Linked DNA regions of Homo sapiens: all the other regions are linked to region 1. The links are contacts of gene promoters, found by promoter capture Hi-C in blood cells and fetal thymus (Javierre and others, 2016). All regions are on one chromosome and are shown on one strand. The core of a region is centred on a gene start or on the middle of the fragment in contact, and the rest is flanking DNA. Distances in the headings are between cores, read along the strand shown.

Evidence for each region. Contacts are between HindIII fragments. The CHiCAGO score rates a contact against its expected background, and 5 or more counts as called.
Region 2: the fragment with the promoter of PRKAR1A here is called in contact with the fragment with the promoter of PSMD12 in region 1 in 1 of 17 cell types (total B cells); the score reaches 5.3 in total B cells.
Region 3: a contact is called between a fragment that was not itself captured here and the fragment with the promoter of PSMD12 in region 1, in 1 of 17 cell types (naive B cells). The highest score is 5.2, in naive B cells.
Region 4: a contact is called between a fragment that was not itself captured here and the fragment with the promoter of PSMD12 in region 1, in 2 of 17 cell types (total B cells and fetal thymus). The highest score is 7.3, in total B cells.

Annotation. Positions count from the first base shown.
Region 1 is chr17:67,365,034-67,367,954 of GRCh38, forward strand. PSMD12 (proteasome 26S subunit, non-ATPase 12) reads right to left here and starts at 1,544. Exons shown (of 11, transcript NM_002816.5): 1 at 1,379-1,544. The coding sequence starts at 1,486. RefSeq lists enhancers at 1,360-1,419, 1,440-1,749. The HindIII fragment of the contact is 3,672 bases long and covers 1-2,225 here.
Region 2 is chr17:68,510,990-68,513,910 of GRCh38, forward strand. PRKAR1A (protein kinase cAMP-dependent type I regulatory subunit alpha) reads left to right here and starts at 1,441. Exons shown (of 11, transcript NM_002734.5): 1 at 1,441-1,559. RefSeq lists silencers at 622-981, 1,402-1,911 and enhancers at 915-1,488, 1,242-1,331. The HindIII fragment of the contact is 13,629 bases long and covers 1-2,921 here.
Region 3 is chr17:68,486,690-68,489,610 of GRCh38, forward strand. It overlaps a transcript of PRKAR1A not described here. Among named protein-coding and RNA genes, the nearest start is that of PRKAR1A, 24 kb to the right of the region's middle. The HindIII fragment of the contact is 462 bases long and covers 1,275-1,736 here.
Region 4 is chr17:68,461,886-68,464,806 of GRCh38, forward strand. It overlaps a transcript of PRKAR1A not described here. Among named protein-coding and RNA genes, the nearest start is that of WIPI1, 5.8 kb to the left of the region's middle. The HindIII fragment of the contact is 1,470 bases long and covers 625-2,094 here.

The DNA.
Region 1 (2,921 bases), core at 294-2,793:
AAAAATTAGCCGGGCGTGGTGGCACCTGTAGTCCTAGCTACTCGGGAGGCGGAGGCAGGAGAATCGTTTGAACCCGGGAGGCGGGGGTTGCAGTCAGCCAAGATTGCGCCACTGCACTCCATCCTGGGTGAAAAAAGTGAAACTCCGTCTCAAAAAAAAAAAAAAAAAAAGTTCAGGTTTTCACTACAATAGGCTTCTAGGCAGGACAGCATGGTGTGTGAGGGCACCAGCTCCAGAATCTAGAATCGGTCTGCCTGGGTTTGCTTCTTGGCTTCACCACTTTACTAGCTGTATGATCTTGGGGCATGTGATTCAACTTTTTCTAGCCCAAGTTTTCTTACCTGTAAAATAAGGATAATAGTAATAGCCATCGCATAGGGCTGAGGTGAGGATCAAATGGCTTAGTGCATGTAAGCACGGTGCCTGACACTGCAGAAACTACTCAACAAATATCAGTTATTGTTATCTGTCTGGCATTGGAGGCGGCTGAGTTTTCCCACCCTTATGTAACTGATGTTTGTTGATGCTAGCTGCTAGAAAGCTCTTAATGAATTTGTGGCTCCCCCTCAGCAAGCATACTGAACCTAAGATATACATACGTACCAACTTTATCACCTTTCTCCATCCTTGTTTCTTGGAAAGCCCGTTAAACTCTTATAGTGCCTACTTGTCTTTACTTCTGTAGTTCCGTCTTCAGTAATGACTCCACCCCACCTCAATCTTACTAATTCCTCAAGACCCAATACAAACGTCAGCCTTCCTGTAAAACCTTCCCTTATGGCACCATTAAGAATGCATAGCTTCCTTCTCGGTGTTCCAGTAACACTTTCCCCTTGTATGGCCCTCACCACCATGCATGACTTGACTAATTCATCACGTACATCAACTCCTAAAGGACAGGGTCCTGTGTTAGTCATCTTCGTACTATCACTTTCCTGCCCCTTCTCCTGGCCAAAGACCAGGCACATAGCCATGATCCACAAACGATGTAACGACATAAATTGATTGAGCAACAGCAACAGAACGAAACTCTCTGATCTAGCCTTAATACTGAAGCGGCCTTAACCCCTGGGAAACTACTAAGGTAAATATCACTTAAACAGCATCCAAGAAACGGCAAAAAGTTAAACGGAGCCCTAAGTCCCACGGAGGGAAGTGACCATCTGTTTTGGGGAGGGTCTGGGAAGCTATAGGCGCTGGCGTACTCCGCAGCCCTGGCCGGGCCGACCTGGGGTCTCCCACTCGTGCAGGCCCAACTAGGGCTGGACAGGCATTGGGGGGTGCACGCTCCAGCCCGCAGGCCCCCTGAGGCCTAAGCAGGCTCCGCGCCGTGACTCAGCCCCTGGCGCCCGCCAACAGCCAGCCGGCCTCTCCTCACCTTGGCTAGCTTCGCACACTCGGGTAGGCGCTGATCCACCGTGGCGCTGTAGTCCACCTCCATCTTGACGATGCGCCCGTCAGCCCGCTCCGAGCCGCCGTCCGCCATGGTCCCCGCCTGAGCGTCCCTTGCTGTCCCCCTGCTTCGGCCACCACTCGTCACCCACACCGGAAGTTGCCCGCGCACCCGCTCAGGCAGCCCATCGGGAGCCCACGCAAAGGACCCCTCGAGGTCCCCGGCGCTGGTTGCCACTCAGGCACTGCCGCGGACAGCCTGGGGGTGGGGCTTGAGGCGCGCGGGGCGGGACTCGCCACTCCAGCCTGCAGCGTCAGGTTTTGTCTCTGGGAACATCAGACTTTTTACCTAAAATTTGCGATGAGAAAAGCGAGTGTAATAGAACAGACCATCTCATATATCCCTACACCCCTGCTTCGAAATATGATTTCTCAGGACCGTGGCCAGTCGCTTTTCTTGGATCTCGGTTTTCTCATCTCTACATCAGGAGGCTAAAATAAACCTTAAAATAGAAAATTCTAAGGTTTTATCTACTTGAGAATCTTGGTGGCTTACTCTGTGGGATCTCTGAAAGCTCCTAAGAGAAGATATGGCAGCAGCTCAGTCATTTAATAAGCAAAGTGGTTTTTCTCTTTGTTTTCATTTTCACTGTAATCCACTAAGTTGGTAAAAAGAAAAGTTAAAAAGACATATTTGTTATCCCTATAGGATTTTCGTGAGCATCAAACTAGATGACATGTGAGACAATTTCAATTCTTAAGGGCCTTACACGTTTTATGTGTTATCATTCATACCATGCTGGTCCCTAGAAAATAGCTTGAGATCTTAAAAAAGCTTAGGATCCTTGAAAATGGGAATGAGGCCGGGCGCGGTGGCTCACGCCTGTAATCCCAGCCCTTTGGGAGGCTGAGGCGGGCGGATCATGAGGTCAGGAGATCGAGACCATCGTGGCTAACACGGTGAAACCCCGTCTCTACTAAAAATACAAAAAATTAGCCGGGCGTGGTGGCGGGCACCTGTAGTCCCAACTACTCGGGAGGCTGAGGCAGGAGAATGGCGTGAACCCAGGAGGCGAAGCTTGCAGTGAGCCGGCGAGATTGCGCCACTGCACTCCAGCCTGGGCGACAGAGCAAGACTCCGTCTCAAAAAAAAAAAAAAAAAAGAAAAAGAAAAGTAAAGAAAATGGGAATGAGGTTGTGTTTGGTGTGGGCATATGGTCAACAGCAGCCTGGAAAGCAAACAGGAAAACGGGAAATCTTGGAGTGGTTTATCTATTATGTTAGTGGTTCTCAATTTAATTAGTGCCGACATCGCTTTATAGATGCTGAATAGATCTCTTTGTTTGTTTTAACTGCAATGAAAATCAGGGAAAATATAAACCATCTACAAGCAAAATAAGACAATATCTCAGCTATAATCTGTAATGTAGAGGAGAAACAAATTTTACCTTTTTTTTATTTTTGTAGAGATAGCAGCTATACTACGTAGCCCAGGCTGGTCTCAAACACCTGGCCTCAAGCAGTCCTCT
Region 2 (2,921 bases), core at 191-2,690, 1.1 Mb after region 1:
ATTAAAAAACAAAAGTGAAATTAACTTTAATATTTTACCTAATATATCAAAAATATTATCATTTCAATCTGGAATCAATATAAACACTATTGAGCTACTTTTTTGTATTGTGTTGAGTTCATGATTTACTTTAAACATACAGCCCTTGAAGTATATACAATGTTACTACAACAGCTCCTGGACACTTGCATATGTGTGTATTTTGCTTTTTTGTATTGTGTTGAATCCATTATGAATTTTAAGCACACGGCCCTAGAAATATATACAATGCTACTAAAGCAGCCCCTAGCCAGACACTTGGACATGTTTCCTTGATGGGCCTTCTTTATTGAGTTACAGACTTGATGTGTCTAAAATTGTACCGTCTCCCTTTTCTTCCTCCTTAGACAGATACTCTGATGGAAAAAAAAAATGGCTGAAAGAGTAAAGTCGCTTTTCCTCCGAATTTTCCCCATTAGTGCAGCTTGTCTGGACAGCTGCGATTTCTTGTTGGGTCACAGGGCATTTTTGACAATCTGCACGCTCTGCACTTCTCCCTCTGTGAGGTCAGGAGTGATGGGGGGGCACTTCAGGTTCTAGAAGGACTCAGGCCTCCTCTTGGACCCTGACAAAGTCCTTTCCCGTGCCTGGTTTCCACAGGGACGGTGTTGCCTGCACAGACGACAGCACCCCCGGCGGGGGAGAGCGGCCCCAGCGGAGACTCGGCAGGGCTCAGGTTTCCTGGACCGGATGACTGACCTGAGCCCGGGGCCCGGGCGGCGCTGGCCGGGCACAGGATGCGCGGCCCGGAGAGCGCATCCCGGCCATCCGCCCGCGCTCGGCCCCGCAGCGCAGCTGCTGCAGATCCGCGGGGGCCGCCACCTCCTCCGGGGGCTGGCAGCGACAGGACTCTCCCCGCCCCGGCCCGGGGCCCTCCCTTGCAGGGGCTGCGGGGAGGAGTCGCCCACCTGTCATCTGAGACGCCCCACGTGGGTCGGCCAGGGAGGGGGTGGAAAGGAGGGAGAAAAGGCAGAGGCGTCAAGGGAGGCCGGAGGGAGAGTGGGGTGGACAGAGGAGCGGAGGGACGAGAGGGAAGCGCACGATAGCTGCGCGGAGAGAGAGCGAAGAGCAGGCGGAGGAACAAAGGCGACCCAAGACACCCAGAGAGGGACAGGTAAGGAGGGGCAGGTGAGCAGGAAGGAGGAGAGAACCGGGCTAGGGAGACTGCGGAAAGGAGAAGTGGCGGGCGTGAGGAAACTGCTGTGGATAAGGGACGAGTAAGATGGAAAGAATGGCGGAAGACGAACGACCGCAGAGTGAGGGTCCTTCCAAGAGCGACCAGGGGGGAGGAACTGGGGCTGTTGCGCCCTTAAGGTTGCTAAGGCGACGGTTCTGGCCAGAGCGAGGCGCATTGACGTCAGTAGCCGAACGCTGATTGGCTGCGGCCAGGCCGTTTCCGGTGGAGCTGTCGCCTAGCCGCTATCGCAGAGTGGAGCGGGGCTGGGAGCAAAGCGCTGAGGGAGCTCGGTACGCCGCCGCCTCGCACCCGCAGCCTCGCGCCCGCCGCCGCCCGTCCCCAGGTGAGTGGGGTCGGCCGGGGGCTCAGGCGAGGTGAGCTTCGTCGCTTCGCAGCCGGTTTGCGGGAGCTGGACCGATCCAAGATGGCGTCACGGGGAGCGACCTGCAGGGGGACGGCCGCACCCCCTGCCCCTCCCCGGCCCGGCGGGCGCCTCCCCGCAGGCCTCACGCCCCCGGCTCCGAGTCTGCATCCTCAAGGCCGTCTGGGCGTTGGCTTTGGTGCGGGGCTCCCCAGCCGCCCCGCTCGCGCTCGCTGCCCCCACCCCACGGCTCCTGGGGCCCTGGGCCCTCCGCGGCCCTCCCCGGCCGCCTTCGCCCCCGCGCGCCGCGGCCTCTTCGCTCACCCTCCCCCATTTCCTGAAGGACAACGGCTCTATTTTACTGGGGTCCGCCATCGTCTCGTCCGCCGGTCCTGGCTCTTCTTGTAAGCCGGTAGTTTTCCTCTCCACTTTTGACGACTCGTCATTGCTAGCAGTAGCCTTTCCTCTTCATAGCGGAGTGATCTTTCCCCCAACACGACGGTCTTAGTCGGGCTCCTGAATTTCCTCTTGTCCCCTTTCACCTCTCTCCCTTTCCCAATTTTGCCCCCCTGAGGCCTCCTCGCCACCACTGTGGCCTTCCGACTGGCGTAGCTTGAAGTCTCGGCTTCCCTTCATTTTGTGGTCATGACCGTGGCCTACGTGAAGTGAAGGGCATTTTCCTGCCCTTCTTCTAGAAAATACACGGTACCTATTAACCTCTTCAGCTCAGAGCCTGTGGTGACGACCGTCCTACTCCTTGAGAGATTCCCAAGAGATCCGTCTTTTTAGCAGAGCGAGGAAAGCAAACACTTACTCAAGATGACCCTAGGGGAGCCGTAACTTGGCTGGTCTAAGGGGGTGCGGTCTGAATCAGGAACAGTTTCTCAAAGTGTTTTTATTTATTTCCCAGAATGTAATCCTTTCGAAACAATTTTGTCACAACTGAATTTTCAAAAGAATGAATCTGAGTGTTTTGTTTTACATAGAGACAATGCAGCGAAAGTTTTAAAGCAGTTAAATAATTGTGTGTGGGGAGGGAAGGCTAGGTTGTTGGGCTTTACAAATAAGTACACATAGAGAATCCGGGTAACTCGATTAAAAATATTAAGACTGTGAAGTCTGGTTATTCAGGGATTTACATGGTGACTGCATTAATTTTGGTACATTTCTGTTCGTATACTGTCCTATTACCGGTGGCTATCTTTTTGGTTTTCGTAATACATTAGTTGTTTCAAACAAAAACACAGTTTCACTCCTTAGGCCCAGTTCTCTCATCTCTACCAGCCAAAGACCTGATCTTAGAATGATTGATCATTTGAATGTTCTTAAAATATGACAATGCTT
Region 3 (2,921 bases), core at 256-2,755, 1.1 Mb after region 1:
GAAAGTGAAAATATAGTGTGACTGTGTACTTTTGCTCTGGAATGAAACTTGAGCTGAAAATCTGGTTCCATTGCTAACCAGCTGCATTACCTTACAGAAGTCACTCATCTAATATGCCTGTGCCTCAGGTACCCAAGTGTTAATGGGTATACTAATGCTAGTTACCTCCCAAAGTCGATGTTGTGCGGATTTTTTTTTTTCTCAGATGATGTCTTGCTCTGTCACCTCAGCTGGAGTGCAGTGGCATGATCTCGGCTCACTGCAACCTCCGCCTCCCAGGTTCAAGCAATTCTCCCAACTCGGCCTCCCCAGTAGCTGGGATTACAGGTTTCTGCCACCGCACCCGGCTAATTTTTGTATTTTTAGTAGAGATGGGATTTCACCATGTTAGCCAGGCTGGTCTCGAACTCCTGACCTCGTGATCCGCCCGCCTCGGCCTCCCAAAGTGCAGGGATTACAGGCGTGAGCCACTGCGCCCGGCCTGTTATGTGAATTTAATAAGACATTCATGTACACACATTGCACAGTGCCTGGCACATAGGGAAATCTCAAAGTATGGTTTTGTTAATAAAAATCAGAAAAATGTAGATAACCAACATTATAATTCAACTGCTGGGAAATAAACTTTACCTCCAGGTACATTTTTACATTCTAGTGTTTTCAAATGAAGGCTACCAAGTTAATTAATCAATACTTACTTAGCCTAACACTATGGTATATATTGAGAGGCATATAGTTATAACTTAAGCCAACGTTTCCTGACTTTCTCCTGTGCTAATAATTTTTCTGTATTCATTCATTCATTATTGACTTATTGGAAAAGTGGTTTGGGGTCGGGCGCGGTGGTTCACCTATAATCCCTGCACTTTGGGGGGCCAAGGCGGGTGGATTGCTTGAGGTCTGGAGTTCAAGACCAGCCTGACCGACATCGTGAAACCCCATCTTTACTAAAAACACAAAAATTAGCCGGGACTGGTGGTGGGCACCTGTAATCCCAGCTATTCAGGAGGCTGAGGCAGGAGAATGGCTTGAAGCAGGAGGCGGAGGTTGCAGTGAGCTGAGATCACGCCACTGCACTCCAGCCTGGGCGACAGAGTAAGACCTCATCTCAGACAAAAAAAAAAAAGAAAAAAGAAAAAGGAAAGAAAAGTGGTTTTGTGGTTATTTTGCATTTTCTTTGTGCCAGATAGTGTTCTGGGTATCAGAGGCATAACAGTGAACAACAATAATAATGAAAAAAAACTCAAAAATAAATAAAAAAAATGCACTCATGAAGCTTACGTTTGTATGAAAGAGAGAGAGAGGGAATAAACAGACTAGAGAAATTCATGTAATACGTCAGATCGTGATAAATATGAAGCACAGGGGAGTAGGGGGGTGGCATGGGGAGAGTTGCAATTTGAAGATGGCCAGGTGGCTTTTGAGCACAGACCCAAGGAAGTGGGGCAGTGAGCCCTGAGGCTGTTTGGGGAGGTCTATGTTTCAGGTGGAGGGAACAGCCTGCCCTGAGATCGAGGTGGGCCTGGCTTATTTGAGCAACAGCCAGGATGTCTGTGGCTGGAGAAAGGTGGGAGCAGGAGAGAAGAGCTGAGGTCTGAGTCTGACAGTGGCCAGATCTAAGGAGCTTGCACGCCATTGCAAGGCTTCTCTGTCCCATATATACAACCTGATTGGCTTCTGGCCTGCTTTGACCTATGAAATGAGAGAGGAAGTGGCAAGTGTCCCTCTCAGGAAGAAGCTTTAAGAGCCAGCATGGGGCTGGGTGCAGTGGCTCATGCCTGTCATCGCAGCACTTTGGGAGGCCGAGGTGGGAGGATCACTTGAGGTCAGGAGTTCCAGACCAGCCTGACCAACATGGCAAAACCCCATCTCTACTAAAAATACAAAAAAAATTATCTGGATGATGTGGCTCAAGCTTGTAATCCCAGCTACTTGGGAGGCTGAGGCAGGAGAATTGCTTGAACTGGGAGGCAGAGGTTGCAGTGAGCTGAGATCATGCCACTGCACTCCAGCCAGGGCAACAGAGTGAGACTCCATCTCAAAACAAAAAAAAAAAAAAAAAAAAAGAGCCAGCGTGGGCTTCTCCATCATTCCTTTCCCTCTGCCACATGGTTCTATAAAGAGGTCACCTTTTAGACCTGAGCTCTGGAGTGAAGAAACTATGGAACTGGATGTCAGGCTCCCTGGTGGATATGGTGTGAGAAATAAGCTTTCAGAGGGCTCTTTCTCTATCCTGTGTCTGAATTGGGCTTGTCTTGAAGCTGTGTGTGTAAAGCACTTTACACAATTTTTAAAATATTTATTTTTTATTTTTTAAAAATTTGAAAAAAAATGCTCAGATTTTTCCTAAGGCTTGTCTGAATAAGTTTGGGCTATTTCTAAACCCCAGAGGTGGGGCTGACCAGATTGAAGTTATCGGTTAAAGATTTAGGTAGCTTTCCTAGGAGAAATAGGATAGAGGTTGGGTAAATACTAAGTGAGCACCCATCTTGGAAAGTATATATATATATATATATATATATATATATATATATATATATGGAAAGTATATATATATATATATATATATATGGAAAGTATATATATATATATATATATATGGAAAGTATATATATATATATGGAAAGTATATATATATATATATGGAAAGTATATATATATATATATATGGAAAGTATATATATATATGGAAAGTATATATATATATGGAAAGTATATATATATATATGGAAAGTATATATATATGGAAAGTATATATATATATAAATGGAAAAAATATATATATATGGAAAGTATATCTATATATATAGATAGTATATATATATGGAAAGTGTATATATATATATGTATATATGGAAAGTATATATATACACACATACTTCTCTTTTTGAGAAAGAGTCACCCATGCTGGAGTGCAGTGG
Region 4 (2,921 bases), core at 110-2,609, 1.1 Mb after region 1:
AGCAGGAAGCCCCAGCCAGAAGTCTGGCCGAGCAGCAGGTGCAACTGGGTTTTCTGTTTCTAATTATAGACAGTGTGTGTGAGATAGCATGGCTGCAGTGAATGAAGAGGCCCTATCATGTGCCCTTGTCCCCCAAATGGAACCATTATTTCTGGATTTATTGATTAAAAGGGGAGAGACAGGGAGCAAAAACTAACAACACTTCTAATATTCCTTGACTTATATATTCCTTCCCAAGAGTCAGGAAAAATGTTATTTCATGAAAGAGTGAATTGATGTCTTAATCTTCATTCTCTCCCCTCACCTGTCTTATTTTTGCCTCCAGAATAGCCTTCCTAAAACACCAAGGTGAATTACAGGTTCTCAATAAATGCTTGCTGATTGGCTGATGATCACGAAGACAGTTGCTTTCTACAAGTGCTTTTGCTAATGTCCTTGGAGCTGAGAGTCTGTTACCCATGCCAGTGCAGAGAGGTTCAATCAAGGTGTTTTTGTTCACCGAGGCATCTTCGCACTGGTCAAGAACACAGAGACGGGTTCAGCAGGTCAGCCAATCACCCTGCCTTAAATTTTAGAATATAATTATAGGCGATACTTGAAAATAGAAGACCAAGCTTTATAGAAAGCTTGGTTTGGAGCGTCATAGATCTTCTCATGTGACGCTAACCACATCTATCTGGTCTAGGAATGTTTATCCCCATCAGGCAGCTGCATATGCCAAAGTGGAGACTGTCGAGTAAGTTGCCAAAGGCCCTAGGACAGTTTTTGATGCAGGTGTAGTTTGTATTCTGTCCCTTCCACTGGGTGCCCAGGTTGCCTGTCACGCTGTCTCTTGGACTGCTTTGGCTCAAGGCTGGAAATAGAATTGGCATCTTAACCTGTGCTTCATCCTATGAAGGGACAGAGGAGCAAGGGGTGAAGAGATAGAGGCAGAATTGTGCCAAGAGGGCCACGGGCCAAGTACAAGGGGGAGAGTGTGGAGTCCTGCAGCTCTTCAAAGGGCACCAGCACTTTGCCTACATTTACCAAGGGTACATCTAGAAATATTCAAAAACGTCCTTTGCTCCCAAGCAGAGAGTTAGCCTGTGCTCCTGGCTGGGCATGGCTTGTTGGAACGTGCTGTACGACTTTAGGTTTCTTTCTAGTCTAGCGGTGGTGCAGGGAGTGGTAATCATTCTCTAGAATCAGTCACCCCTGGGAAGAAGGTGGATTCAAAGGCTTTGGGCTTAGGGTGAGAGGGGCGTGGCTAAGAATCCCGAGATTCTTGGTGAACAGTGCCATCTAGTGGTCTGTATGATTTAGTTCTAGGATGGTTGGGGGGACACCTCAGGAAAAACTGGCTTGAGTGATAAGATATGGGTAGCCAGTCCTAAAGCCCCAAAAGAAAGTCTCTGAGGCTCCCTTGTGTATTTTTCCAAAACCTCTTTACTGTCTATAAATGGAAAACACAGAAGCCTCCCTCACCACTTCCTCTGAAGGAGGAGAAGTTTGGAAGGAGTTTGTATATTCATTCATTCATCCATTCATTCATTTGACCAATTTTTATCATGTGCCTGTTGTGTGCCGGTCATGGCTCCAGGTTCTAGGGATATGACGCTGTCCAAAATAAATAAAAACCCCTGCCCACCTGGGCAGAGAGACCATTAACAAGAAAAATGAGATGTATAGTATCTTAGATGGTGATAAGTGCTAAGAAATGTATAGCAGTGAAAGTGTGTTTGGGAGTGTGGGGTGTAGGGAGGAGAAATTTTGCATAGGGTGGGCAGGGAAGGCCCCACTGAAAATTTCCATTTGAACAAGACCTCAGGAAGAAAAGGGAGCAGGTTATGCAGTCATATGGGAAAAAGCTCAAAGAGCAGCGAGGAGGCAGGGCCGCTGGAGTGGGGAGAAGAGTGGGGAGAACTACAGGCAAAGAGGTCAGAGTGACCTGAGAAATCACTGGAAGTTCTGACTTACACTGGAATTCGACACAGACAGCTGTGTTGAAAAGAAATTGAAGGTGTCTTGGGAGATTCACAATTCACTTTAGCACGTTCAAGTCTCCAGAAAGCCCAGCATTATGTTTATTTAACATTGTTTCCCAAGTACTTTCCAAGCTTATTTAAAGATAGATTCCCTTTCTTCCAGGAACACCCACTACTTCATGTGGGAACCTGAGAAAATGGAAATCAGCTCAGATGAGCAGACTGGAATGTTCCCAACAGTCATAAACAAGGCCAGCACAAGGCCAGGTGAAAACTGTGTTTAACCCAAGGCCACACTGTAGCTGCAAAATTACTGACATTGGCATATCTAATCCTTTCTTATCAAAGCCTCTCCCAGACCCACTCGATTTCTCCACTTGCTGAACAAAAATTTCTGAGATATCCGATGATGAAACCACCTGCTTCACAACACATCCATTCCTGACCTGATTCCTGTTTCTTCTACCTTTCCCTTCCTAGCATAACTTAACACAAACCTGGCAAAAAGCCCTTTCCCACAGCCTCTTACTGAGATGCCTCATGGTTCACTTGATGTGCACACCCTCTTGCTGCAGGAAGTTAATAAAACTGACATTGCCGAGGCGGATGGATCGTGAGGTCAGGAGTTCGAGACCAGCCTGGCCAACACGGTGAAACCCCGTCTCTACTAAAAATACAAAAATTAGCTGGGTGTGGTGGCACGTGCCTGTAGTCCCAGTTACTTGGGAGGCTGAGGCAGGAGAATCGCTTGAACCCGGGAGGTGGAGGTTGCAGTGAGCCGAGATCGTGCCGCCGCACACTGTACTCCTGCCTGGGCGACAAAGCGAGACTCTGTCTCAAAAAAAAAAACAAAAAAAACAAAAAAAACACCTAACATTGAAAAGGTTTATTCCTCTTATACTTTACCTGTAGGTGTTATCAGAGCCCAGCGTTTCATAGAACGAGGTGTAAGAACAG